3 separate regions of the Homo sapiens genome follow, and regions 1 and 2 are each linked to region 3. The links are contacts of gene promoters, found by promoter capture Hi-C in human tissues and cell types (Jung and others, 2019). All regions are on one chromosome and are shown on one strand. The core of a region is centred on a gene start or on the middle of the fragment in contact, and the rest is flanking DNA. Distances in the headings are between cores, read along the strand shown. Region 1 overlaps ENOX1 (ecto-NOX disulfide-thiol exchanger 1). Region 2 overlaps ENOX1 (ecto-NOX disulfide-thiol exchanger 1). Region 3 holds the start of ENOX1 (ecto-NOX disulfide-thiol exchanger 1).

Region 1 (3,716 bases), core at 920-3,419, 310 kb after region 3:
AGTTTCTATTAATCATCTTTCATCTATTGAAACACTCTAACACTTCAATGCTTAGACCTCCTGTAATTGAAAACTGAGGTCTATAAACAAATATAAGATTAGAGTTAACTGAGACCATCCATTCCCAAGAGTTATTAAAATTAAGGTCTGTGTTTAAGGTTCCCACCTTATTTAGGGCTCTAAAAAAGTGTCCTTTATGGTAAAATTTTAAGAGCTGTATATCTTAGAGTTTAGGCTCTTCTCAAATTCTGTTTTGCTATTCTAAGAGATTAAAGCCTTTCTTTTTTTTTTTTTTTTTTTTTGGTCAGTTATGTTTTTGTATATGATTGTGGCCTGGGCCAATGCCACCACTAAGAAAATGGAACTTTTAAAAATTCAAGAGTAAAAGCCACTATTTCTAGAACTGACACAGCCCTTCCTAGGTTCAATCATTACCCCTTTAAATTATTTATTCCCTTCCATATCTGGAAATTATTAGGCTGTAAATGATCTCACCACTTCTCAAATATGATTTCGTTTATGAAAAGATTAATTAATAAGTATTGAGAACTTCCTTTGATTTTCCTTAGCAATGCTCTGGTCTTTTCTGAAAGTTGAGTTTATAGGATTTCCCTCTCCTTAATCTTCATTTTTGTTGTATTTGATGGAATTCTACTAAGCTACAGTATTTATGCCAAGTTTCATTTTCAGCAGACTTTCATAATTGAGCCTAAATCCTCAGAAAATAGAGTTCCTATCAGAAATGTTGGCACACGTTCCCTATTGCTGCTCCGCTGGCCATCTCCACACTGCTTAGGCTGTTGTGGACATGTGGAATCAGCAGGGAAATGCTTTTCACTTTTAGCTCACATATGTTTTTAAGTAGAATTTTTCTGTAGTGGTACTGATATCCCCAGTATGAGATTAGTAGTACTATTTTCTTAATGGTCAAATTTTGATATTTATCAATAGCCATCATAATGATAGATCTGCTGATGGCATCTGGCACATTAATTTGTAAATGTGGTAGAATTCCAACACCGTGTAAACTCTTTCTGGTGGATTTTACTTTAGAAAATCAACTCACTGCTCTTCCAATCTGTCTGCCTTCAAGTTGTTGCATGAGGATTCATCTCAAATCACCAGCAAACCTGCAACTTCTTTACCTCCTTCTCCCTTTCTCTGTGGGTAGGCCCATTCTCTCAGGAATACCAGACAAGAGGGTCAAGCTACCGAGAAACATGAGAAAACATGTCTAGTAATAGACCTGCTGAAATCACTCTATATTTGTTTTTCTTTTCTTTTTACATCAGGGTCCATATTAATTTTTCTTAAAAAGTAATAGTTAGACCACCAATGGCTTAGCAGGAGGAAGATTGGTCATGGTATTGGATTCTAAATTTTTCAAATACAGTTTGAGAAAATATTCATCAAACTTTGAAATAGAATAAAGAAGAGTGAGAAAAGTAAGTGTAGGTCTTAATTCCAGTGAGAGGAATCAGCAACTTCGTTTCAAATACATTGAAACCTGAATTTGGAATCTTTCATACAGAAACTGCAAAGCAAAATTTAAGGATAAGCAATGCATTATTCCCAAAAGTGTTGAGAAGACAAAATTAGATTAACAGGTCTAAGCAAAAAACAAAGCTAGTAAGTGTTAGAAACTTAGAAAAATCTTAAATTTCAAGTGTGCTCTTAATACTTGAGACATAGACATAAATAATTAAGCACAAAGAGTCTCAAGGATGCTTGTATAAGAGACAAAATTAATATAGGGAAGCCTCCTTAATTAGGGTGAACTAGGGAGAGAGCACACTTGTTGGAAGTAGGTGATGTTTCATTTCAAGGGCAGTTGTACACTCTCAAGTAAATCCAATAATATAAGCTTGTTCCTGATGGGAACCTCAACAACAACAAAAACCCTCGCTATCTTGCTTCACGAATATCTAATTTTCCCCTATGAGTTTTGCTCCAGGATGATACATAGTGGAAGGAATCACAACAGTTTGGCCTTTCACCATCTTAAGCAACTTGTATTAATTTTAAAAACCTAAGCCAGTGGTAAACTTAATTTGAATATAGATGTCCTAATATACTTTTTTGACAAATTCATTACTATTAAAAGGATGTTTTAAGATTACAGGTGTATTGGTGCTGTAGCCCAGAATGATGATTTCCAAGTGACGATGTTCATTTACATATAGCATTTTATTTCCCGTTAACAGTTAGGATTTACTCAAGGAGAAGAATAATAAGACATTAAAGTGCAGGGCACCTGACTTCCTGCTTCTGTCTCCATTCAGAGAAAGAGGTTACAGAGTACAGACATCCCAGCACCCCTAGCACAGGAGAGATAAGGGGAGGAAAAGATAAGGACTAGGAAGGGAGATTGCCAACCAGCTTTCTCTTCCCTATTAACCCAAAATTTGGCATGCAGCCAGTGTTTCTTTAATTTTTTCTTTAGCTTCTATTGATAGCCCAGAGATGAGTGCGTATGCTGGAGTTAGGAGAGGGACTTCCCTTTTAAATAGACACAAGAGAACTGCATATTTTTATGAAAAGGACATTTTTGAAGTTCTTTCCTAAAATGTGGACAACACTTGAATAAATACTATAGGCAAACATTTTCAAGATAAAATTTCTGAGATCATTTCCACTCATTTAGAATTTTTCACACACACAAAAGACTGTTAGTTACCGAACAATGCCATCACTGTTAGAAATTCCATCCTAAATTTTAGCAGAGAATGTGTAATCCCCCCAAAAAAGAAAAGTTAAGGGAATAGAATGTATTTTTCATTTAATTTAAAATAACTTTTTGTTGTTTTAAAATTCTGGATAAAAATCCATTAGTCATAGTTTCTTAGAATTATCACAAGAATATATATTCAACAAGCCAAAGGATGACAGTCATAGTAGGATGAAACAATGTTCAACATTCTACAGCTCAGTTTGCTCATCAGAAAGATTACTAAATTGAGAGACGATGTGAAGAAATTCCACTTGCTTGGAAAATATCTGTTTATAAAAATGATAATACAAGACCCATAGAAAATATAATTTATGAAAACCTATTTTCATTTCTGCCCTTCTTAGCAAAGTGAGACATAACCCACTTAAGAAATTCTACTCCCTTTTATTCCTGTCTGAGAATTCCTGCCATTTGAGAAAATATGCTGTTGCTTAATTTATTGGTTGGAAATGCTAAAATTGTATTTGTGAAATTAATATTGTAAAAAGAGATGGCAAGACGTAAATAGTATTAACCTTTCATTACTCTGTACTTAGAACATTTTTTTCCTGAAATTTCCGTACCCAGCTTCATTTTCCAAAGGTCCTGGAAGACCTTCATAGAACTTGGCTCATATTAGGCTACAATTTAAATGTTTACTGGACAAATAAACAAGAAAAATAATTAAAGGTAGCCTACAAAGGTGAATTTCCAAAAATCCCATAACCTCAGTGGGCTAAATACCAGATGGAGAAGGGTGCTGCAGATATGATGCTCCACATTTTCCTTTTATGCTTCGTCTCCAAGGCCCTACTCTATTTATTGCTGTGGCATCTGGCAGGCTTTCTTTTCTGGGCTCCACATGCACCGTGCCGTGTGTTAGAATTTTCCTGGAATGAAAGTCAAGGAAATACCGTTTCTAAAAATATGCCTTATGGGGTTTTTTAAATATAATATTTCCTTTCTACTAGCTCATTCACTTAGGGAGCCTAATAAATGGTATTCA
Region 2 (3,458 bases), core at 136-2,635, 290 kb after region 3:
ACAAATAGATCAATGGAACAGAATATGTTATCATGAAATAGACACAGACTTATACAGTAAATTGATTTAATAACAAAGCAATTTTGTTACATATAGGAGAAAGGCTCATTAAGAAATGGAGGCTGGGTGTGGTGACTCATGCCTATAATCCCAACACTGTGGGAGGCCGAGGTGGGAGAACTGCTTGAGCCTAGGAGTCTAAGACCAGCCTGGGCAACATAGCGAGACCCTATCTCTAAATAAATAGTCAAAGTAGCTGAGCATGGTGGTGCACATCAGTAGTTCCAGCTACTTGGGAAGCTGAGGCAGGATTGCTTGAACCCAGGGGTACTCGGTTACAGTCAGCTATGATTGTTCCACTGCACTCCAGCCTGGGCAACCAGAGTAAGACACAGTCTCTTAAAAAAAAAAATAGAAAAAGAAAAAGAGCCAATTGCTAGAGCAATTATTGAAACAGAATGAACCTTAACACCTTCTTCAGACCATACACAAAAATTGATTCAAAGTATATACTTTGAATTAGATCTTTACATGAAAGTAAAATTTATAAGATTTCTAGAAAAAGTCAAAAGATGATAACTATTTCTTAGGATACTAAAAGCACTCACATTATAGAAAAAAATCAGTTAACTATACTCCACAAACATTAAAGGCTCCCTATAAAAAAACATTTTTAATAGGCAAGCCACAGAAAGGGCAAATATTAATAGTTTGCAATACATATGTATGAAAAGGAATTGAATCTAGAATATTTAACAAAGCTTTACAACTCAAAAAATACAAAGAAAATATTTTTCTTCCAATTGGCAAATTACTTAAACAGAACCTTCACAAAAGAAGATAAGAATGTTTAATAAACATTTGAAGCCATAATAATGACATCATTAGCCATGATGGAAATGTAAATTTAAGTACCACTTCACATCCACAAGAAAAAGATAAAAATAAAAGGACTGAGCTCACCAAACATTGGTGAGGATGTGGTAATACTGAAATTCTTGTACCGTGCTCCTGAGGGTATAACATATTACAGGATTTTTTTGAAAACTAGTGGTTCCTTATAAACTTAATGCCCTGGCAACCTCACACCTATTTACTTAAGAATGAAAGGATATATGGCTTTGTATAAGAACATAAAGCCCTGAGAAGAATGTTTGTAATAGCTTTGTTTATTAATAGCCAAATACTGGATCAAGCCAAATGACCATAGACAGGAGAATGGATAAGTTATGGTAAATTCATATAATGTAATATTATATGTAGTAGGTTATTAGTCGTTTATACAATTGAATACTTATGAATTAACTACTGGAAGATTTAACAAGAATTATAATCATTACATTGAACAAAAGGAACCAGGCATAAAAGAACATATGCTATCTGGTATACCGTATGATTATATACAGAGTTCAAGTATAGGCAAAGCCATTTATGGTGATAGACATTGAAATTTCACATTTGAGTGGGGCTTGACTAGAAGGAAACTTTCAGGGGTGATGGAAATGTTTTGTATCTTGACTTGTGTGTAGGTTACTTGGGAAGGTATATTTATCAAAGCCTAGTGAACTGTACACCTAAAATCAGTGCATTTTACCATATATTATACTCGCTGAACAATAAATTAGAGATAGTCTTTGATAGTCTCTATTGATCTTTGGTGAAACATTTATCAAACTTAGATTTTCTGTATTCATAAAACATAGGAAGGAATGTGGCATTTCTCAAACTTGGCATATCTCAAAGTAAAGTCACTATCATTTTATACTCCCTAAGCATGCAGACATATACCAGCTCCCCTCTTGAATCTCCACATTCTGTCAGTGTTCTTACAGTCTCCCCCACACCTAGGCTCAAAATATTCCTATAATTGTTGACTGCATCTTTTTTCTCATTATCCATTTCATCTAATTGATGGAATTTTTTCTCTGCATTTTTCTTCCATCCAACCCTACTTTTATATTTCCACTGCTGTCTAACTGACCTATTCAAATAGCAATAGCCTTTTTTCCTATTCTAAACTTTGATGCCACGTTCATCTTCAAAAACACTTTTAATTGAAATCTGATACTTCTGCTCTAAAGCAGCCTATAAAATTTCAAATTTGTTATTCTCAATTTCACAATCATCTTATTCTCCAACTCCATAAAACTCCACTCTGTGTGTCACTCCCGTGTGTCATGATTTGTCTCATCTCTACTATTTTGTTTATTATTGTGAAAGAATGAATATATGTGCCTTCTTACAATATTAAAGGTACCTTCAGTAAAGGTACAAATAAATCGTAAACAATAAGTTAGTTGGGGGACTGTTCCGTCATTTTCTTAGGTTATATGAAGACACTGCTGGAGAAGCTTTAGTTTTGACTCATTTGTTTAACAAGAATGTAGTCACTGTGCTGGACACAGTACAATATTTGTTTGCAAACATGATGTACGTGGTCTCTGCTTGACAGAACATGAAGCTTACCATATTAGAGAGGAATCCAAAAATTATAATTCATTGTGATAAATGTGATGGGAGGGCTGTCATATTAGTCTCACAGTATCTGTGGGTCTTCGTATTAGTTAATTGTGATTATTGTGATGGTTGATTGGGTGTCAGTGTGACTGGTCTAAGGATGATATGGTTTGGTTGTGTCCCCACCCAAAATCTCATCTTGAATTGTAATCCCCATAATCCCCACATGTCAAGGGAGAGACCAGATGGAGGGAATTGAATCATAAGGGCAGTTTTTCCCATGCCATTCTCATGATAGTGAGTTCTCACGAGATCTGATGGTTTTATAAGTATTTGGTAGTTCCTCCATTTATTTTCCCTCCTGCACCTTGTGAAGAAGATGCCTTGCTTCCCCTTTACCTTCTGTCATGATTGTAAGTTTCCTGATGCCTCCCCAGCCATGCAGAACTGTGAGTCAGTTAAACCTGTTTCCTTTCTAAATTACCCAGCCTCGAGCAGTTCTTTGTAGCAGCGTGAGAATAGACTAAAACAAAGGGATACCCAGATAGCTGGTAAAGCATTAATTATTCTCAGTGCTTCAGTAGGCACTGAGCTTGTCCTTCTCCTGATGAAAGGGAAACCCAGATGGACTGTTTTGGCATTTGATTAGAATGATAGGCCTGCCCCCAGGGGAATCTGTGAAGGTGTTTCCAGAAGAGATTAGCACTTGAGTCAGTGGACTGAATGGGGAAGATCTGCCTTCAATGTGGGTGGTTACTATCCAATCAGCTGGGGTTCCCAGATGGAAAAAGAAGGCAAAGGAATGGTGAATTCTCGCTCTTTCTGGGAGCCAGGATGGCCTTTTCCTTCTGCTGTTGGATATCAGAAGTCCAGACTCTGTTGTCCTTGGACTCCAAGACTTACACCAGCAATGCCCCTAGGCTCCTGGGCCTTTGGGCTTGGTGTGAGAGTTACTACTTTCTTGGTTCTAAGGCCTTCAGACTTGAATTGAGCCTTGCTAT
Region 3 (3,825 bases), core at 787-3,286:
TTGAAATTTAGCATGAAATGCAAAATTGAAGACTTCTGCTTCTAAGACGATGATTGTAGAAATACCGAGGTCGAAGGATGTGGACTTGGTGCTACACCAGACAGCAGAATTAGCAGTCTGGGGTGACCCTGCATGTATTGGTCAGTGTCCATGAACACTACTCTTTACAGGAGAAAAATGCGTACCTGATAAGCTATTAGAAATGTGTATTTCTGGCCTGGAGCGGTGGCTCATGCCTGTAATCCCAGCACTTTGGGAGGCCGAGGCAGGCGGATCACTTGAGGTCAGGAGTTGGAGACCAGTCTGGAAAACATGGTGAAACTGTGTCTCTACTAAAAACTAAAAACTAAAAAAAAAAAAAAAAAAAAAAAAAAAAAAAAATTAGCCGAGCGTGGTGGCCGGCGCCTGTAATCCTAGCTACTAGGAGGCTGAGGCAGGAGAATTCGCTTGAACCCGGGAGGCAGAGGTTGCAGTGAGCCGAGATCGCGCCACTGCACTCCAGCCTGGGTGACAGAGCGAGGTTCCGTCTCAAAAAACAAAAAACAAAAGTGTATTTCTCTTAAAACTGTTTTCCCCATCCTTCTGCTCTAGAAGGGACAGTATAAACTGCTGGTGAACACTGACTTTCACATTTTGAGAGGTTAGGTTCTGAGCTTTGGCCCCCTCACACCCAGGGCATCCCACTGGGGTCCCTGCAGAGTGCTTCTACATGCATCCTTTGTTAAGGGTGCACAATGGATAAGTATTATTTTCTTTCTTTGCATTGGGGTTCTGACCGCCAGGGGGAAAAATAGCCACACACAAGGAAATGGCATAAGTTAAAATCAGGCAAGCCTAGTGGGGTGGTAATGACTTTCCCAGCATCCAAGTCTTTGCCTTCAGGTTACGTGAAGCTAGAAAACAATGTCATTCATTCAACATTTACAGGGAACTCACAAAGTACAGAGTACTATGCTAAGCACTGGAAGGCATGCAAAAGTGTGCAAAACACAATCCCTGCATTGAGGATTCCTGCCAGAAAGGGTATTTCAAGTATTACCCAGACCTTACGACCCTTGAAGAAATGCTTGTGTGAATAAAATCCCACTCAGAATTTAAAATAAGCAAGGAAAAGTATACTACTAAGACAATATATCTGTTAAGAGGCAGAGAATGTAAATGTGCTTTAAACATTTATTTCTGAAGTATTACAATGTAGTTGGGATGGAGGATCGGGGGATGTGGGTGTGTGTGGGGAGGTGGTGGGAGCGGTTCTTGGACGAGCCTGACTCTAAGGAGGCACTGCTTAGATGCCTGCACAGCTAAGTTGAATCCTAACAAAGAGGAGGCCGGCATTCTTACCTGGGAAGTGGGTAACTTTGAGAAAAAGTAGCCTCCAAGGAGGAAAAAAAGGCAACATGTCACCTGGGGTTAGGATCCCCTCACCCTTACCAACCTGAATGCTGACCGCACCCCGGCCGAGCCACTCTGGGCCGCACACCCCGCATCATCTGCCCAGGCCACGCGGCCCAATTCCACCGTCTACCCCAAGCCCACAATCCTGTAACACGCCCGCTCCAGCCTGGAGTCGGCCACGTGCGCCCGGGTTCTTCTCTTGGCCCTTCAGCGGGCCCGGCCCCTCCAAGGTCGCCGTAGCAACCGTGCGGTCCCTCTCTCGGTTCCCCCGCTCCCAGTAGAGCAGTCCCGACCGCGGCGGCGGTGGCGGGAGCGAGCGGCCTCGGCCCCTCCCGAGAGGGGGCAGCGCGACCGTGGGCTGCGGGCGCCGCCTCTGCTGCATCGGTGGCTGCGCGCTCCGCTCGGCTCTGCCGGGCTGGGATCCGGAGCCCTAGCGCGCCTCGCTGACTTCCCCTCCTCCTCTGCTGCCGCCCCGTGGGCAGCTTCTCCAAGCGAGACACGCGTTCGATCCTCCTTCCCCGCGTTTACGGATTTCCGGGGTCGTAGAATTTTGCCTCGGTCCCTACGAGCATCTCTCGGCCTCTCTCCCCCTCCCCTCGCGACTCCCCCACCCCGTGGGCGCGCGCGCACCCATACACTCACACTCGCAGGCGCGCGTGCGCACGCCCGCGCGCCTCCAGCCGCGGAGTCTCCAGCGCCCCTCAGCAGATCCCCGCTCTCCCGGGCGCCGCTACTCACACAGGCTTCCAGCCGCCACGGGGCGTCCTCTGTCTGCTGCAGCGGCGGCGGCAGCAGAGGGAACGGCGACTGCAGCCCGGCCGCGTCTCCCAGCTCCGTGCCCGGGACAGAGTCCGGGAGAAGCAAAGGAGGAGGAGGACGCCGAGGCTAGGAGGAGCCGCGCCGCGCCCGGCGCCCCACTCCGCGCAGCGGGTTGCCTCCGCTCCCCATACGGCGGCCCCAGGTAAGCAGCTCCGGGGCCCGCAGCCTCCCTGGGGCGTCCGGGCTCCGAGCCGGGGTCCTCTGGTCTCACCCCCGCCACGGCACCTGGATCTAGACTGAGAGGGGAGTGGGCGAGGGGGGAGGGGAGTGGAGCTAGAGGTGAGGCTGGTGAGGAGGGGTGCGTGGACGCGTGGGGGCTTCGGTGCAGCCCCCACGCCCTTCCCCGCCGTGCCCCGTCTCAAGCTCCCTCACTTTTACGCGCCCGGGGGTGCCCAGCGCCCCAGACAGCTGTTCCCCGCTCTCCCCTCCGCCCGCCAGCCAGTGTCAGCTCCGGGCTCCGCGCCCGCCGCGCGCCAGTCACCTCCCCTGCACCTTGGACAGCGCACCCCGCACCCGTCTCCCCCTGCGGGCGTCGCCCCCGGGACCCGTTCCTGCCCACACAGTGTTCCCGCTGCCCTCTTCTTTCAGGTTTTCACCCTCCCGCTCTGCATCCCTTTTCCTCCAGCCTTGGCGGACTCCGCTCTGCTGCGGGCCGGAAACTTTCCTCCCCGCCTAGTCTGCGCTGGGTACTGTTGTTATTCGTGACTGTCCCCTCTCGCGGGGAGCTCGGACACCTTGGACAGGTCTTCGTCGGCGGGAGCGCGCCCTGCCTGGCCCAACGCGAGGTAAAGGAGGCACTGGGGCAGCCGGACTCGGCCGCTGCCAGGGTGCAGAGCCCGCGCCTCGGCCGCTGGACGCCGGCCGCCTCCCCGCCTCTCCGGACCCGACACGTGCGAGCCTCCCACGGACGCGGCCCCTCCCAGACCACCCCACGTCCTCCCCCTGCACGGCCACAGCCACCCCATAGGTTGGACACCCGGGGCTCGCGGGTCCTGATTGGCTGAAGGCGTAACCCCGCCCTCTTTCGGAAGGGGGGTGGTTCTGGAGTGTTGTGGTTGTCATCCCGCGGCGAGCACATGGGGAAAGTGGGGTCGACAGGTGGGCAAGCCCAGCTCTGTGGAATCTCTGCGTCTCACTGTATAGCCACTGAGCCACGCTTCTTCACCCAGATACACTCCTGCTTCTCTCCTTTTCTCTCCCTCAATCTTTCACTGCTGTAACATTACATGAAAAAAACTGGCTTTGTAATCCCAATTTTGTTAAGATTGCATTTGTTTGGTGGTAGCAATTTTTAAAAGCAGACCCAGGAGAATGCAGGAAATACGTGCGTATGGAAAGGTTCCTGGCCAACTGGGCTGCAGATTTGAGTCTGGTAGTTTGGAGAAAGCAATGAAGCGTGCTTAAGGGATCTGAAGAGGGTGGAGAAAGTGGGAAGGAAATTGATTCCTGGAGGAGAGACGCAGGTGAGCGAGCTTGGAAAGCTGAGCTGGTGGGCCCGCTCGAGAGGTGGGTGCGTGCTGTTGGAGACGGCTCTGTCAAGCAAAGTGGTAATATTGGCTGGTACTTAGTTTATGGTTAACACACTCTGCTTTTGTTTTACTAGCGTTGCCA

Evidence for each region. The method cuts DNA at HindIII sites, captures the fragments that hold promoters and counts their contacts. A contact is called where the count stands out against the background at its distance.
Region 1: a contact is called between a fragment that was not itself captured here and the fragment with the promoter of ENOX1 in region 3, in 2 of the 25 tissues and cell types used here (heart left ventricle and hippocampus).
Region 2: a fragment that was not itself captured here is called in contact with the fragment with the promoter of ENOX1 in region 3 in 5 of the 25 tissues and cell types used here (H1 embryonic stem cells, bladder, hippocampus and 2 more).

Annotation. Positions count from the first base shown.
Region 1 is chr13:43,472,381-43,476,096 of GRCh38, reverse strand. The region is part of intron 3 of ENOX1 (ecto-NOX disulfide-thiol exchanger 1); the gene reads left to right. Among named protein-coding and RNA genes, the nearest start is that of ENOX1-AS2, 25 kb to the right of the region's middle. The HindIII fragment of the contact is 4,893 bases long and covers 1-3,716 here.
Region 2 is chr13:43,493,344-43,496,801 of GRCh38, reverse strand. The region is part of intron 2 of ENOX1 (ecto-NOX disulfide-thiol exchanger 1); the gene reads left to right. Among named protein-coding and RNA genes, the nearest start is that of ENOX1-AS2, 46 kb to the right of the region's middle. The HindIII fragment of the contact is 5,387 bases long and covers 1-3,458 here.
Region 3 is chr13:43,785,183-43,789,007 of GRCh38, reverse strand. ENOX1 (ecto-NOX disulfide-thiol exchanger 1) reads left to right here and starts at 2,036. Exons shown (of 17, transcript NM_001347969.2): 1 at 2,036-2,356. The HindIII fragment of the contact is 9,406 bases long and covers 1-3,825 here.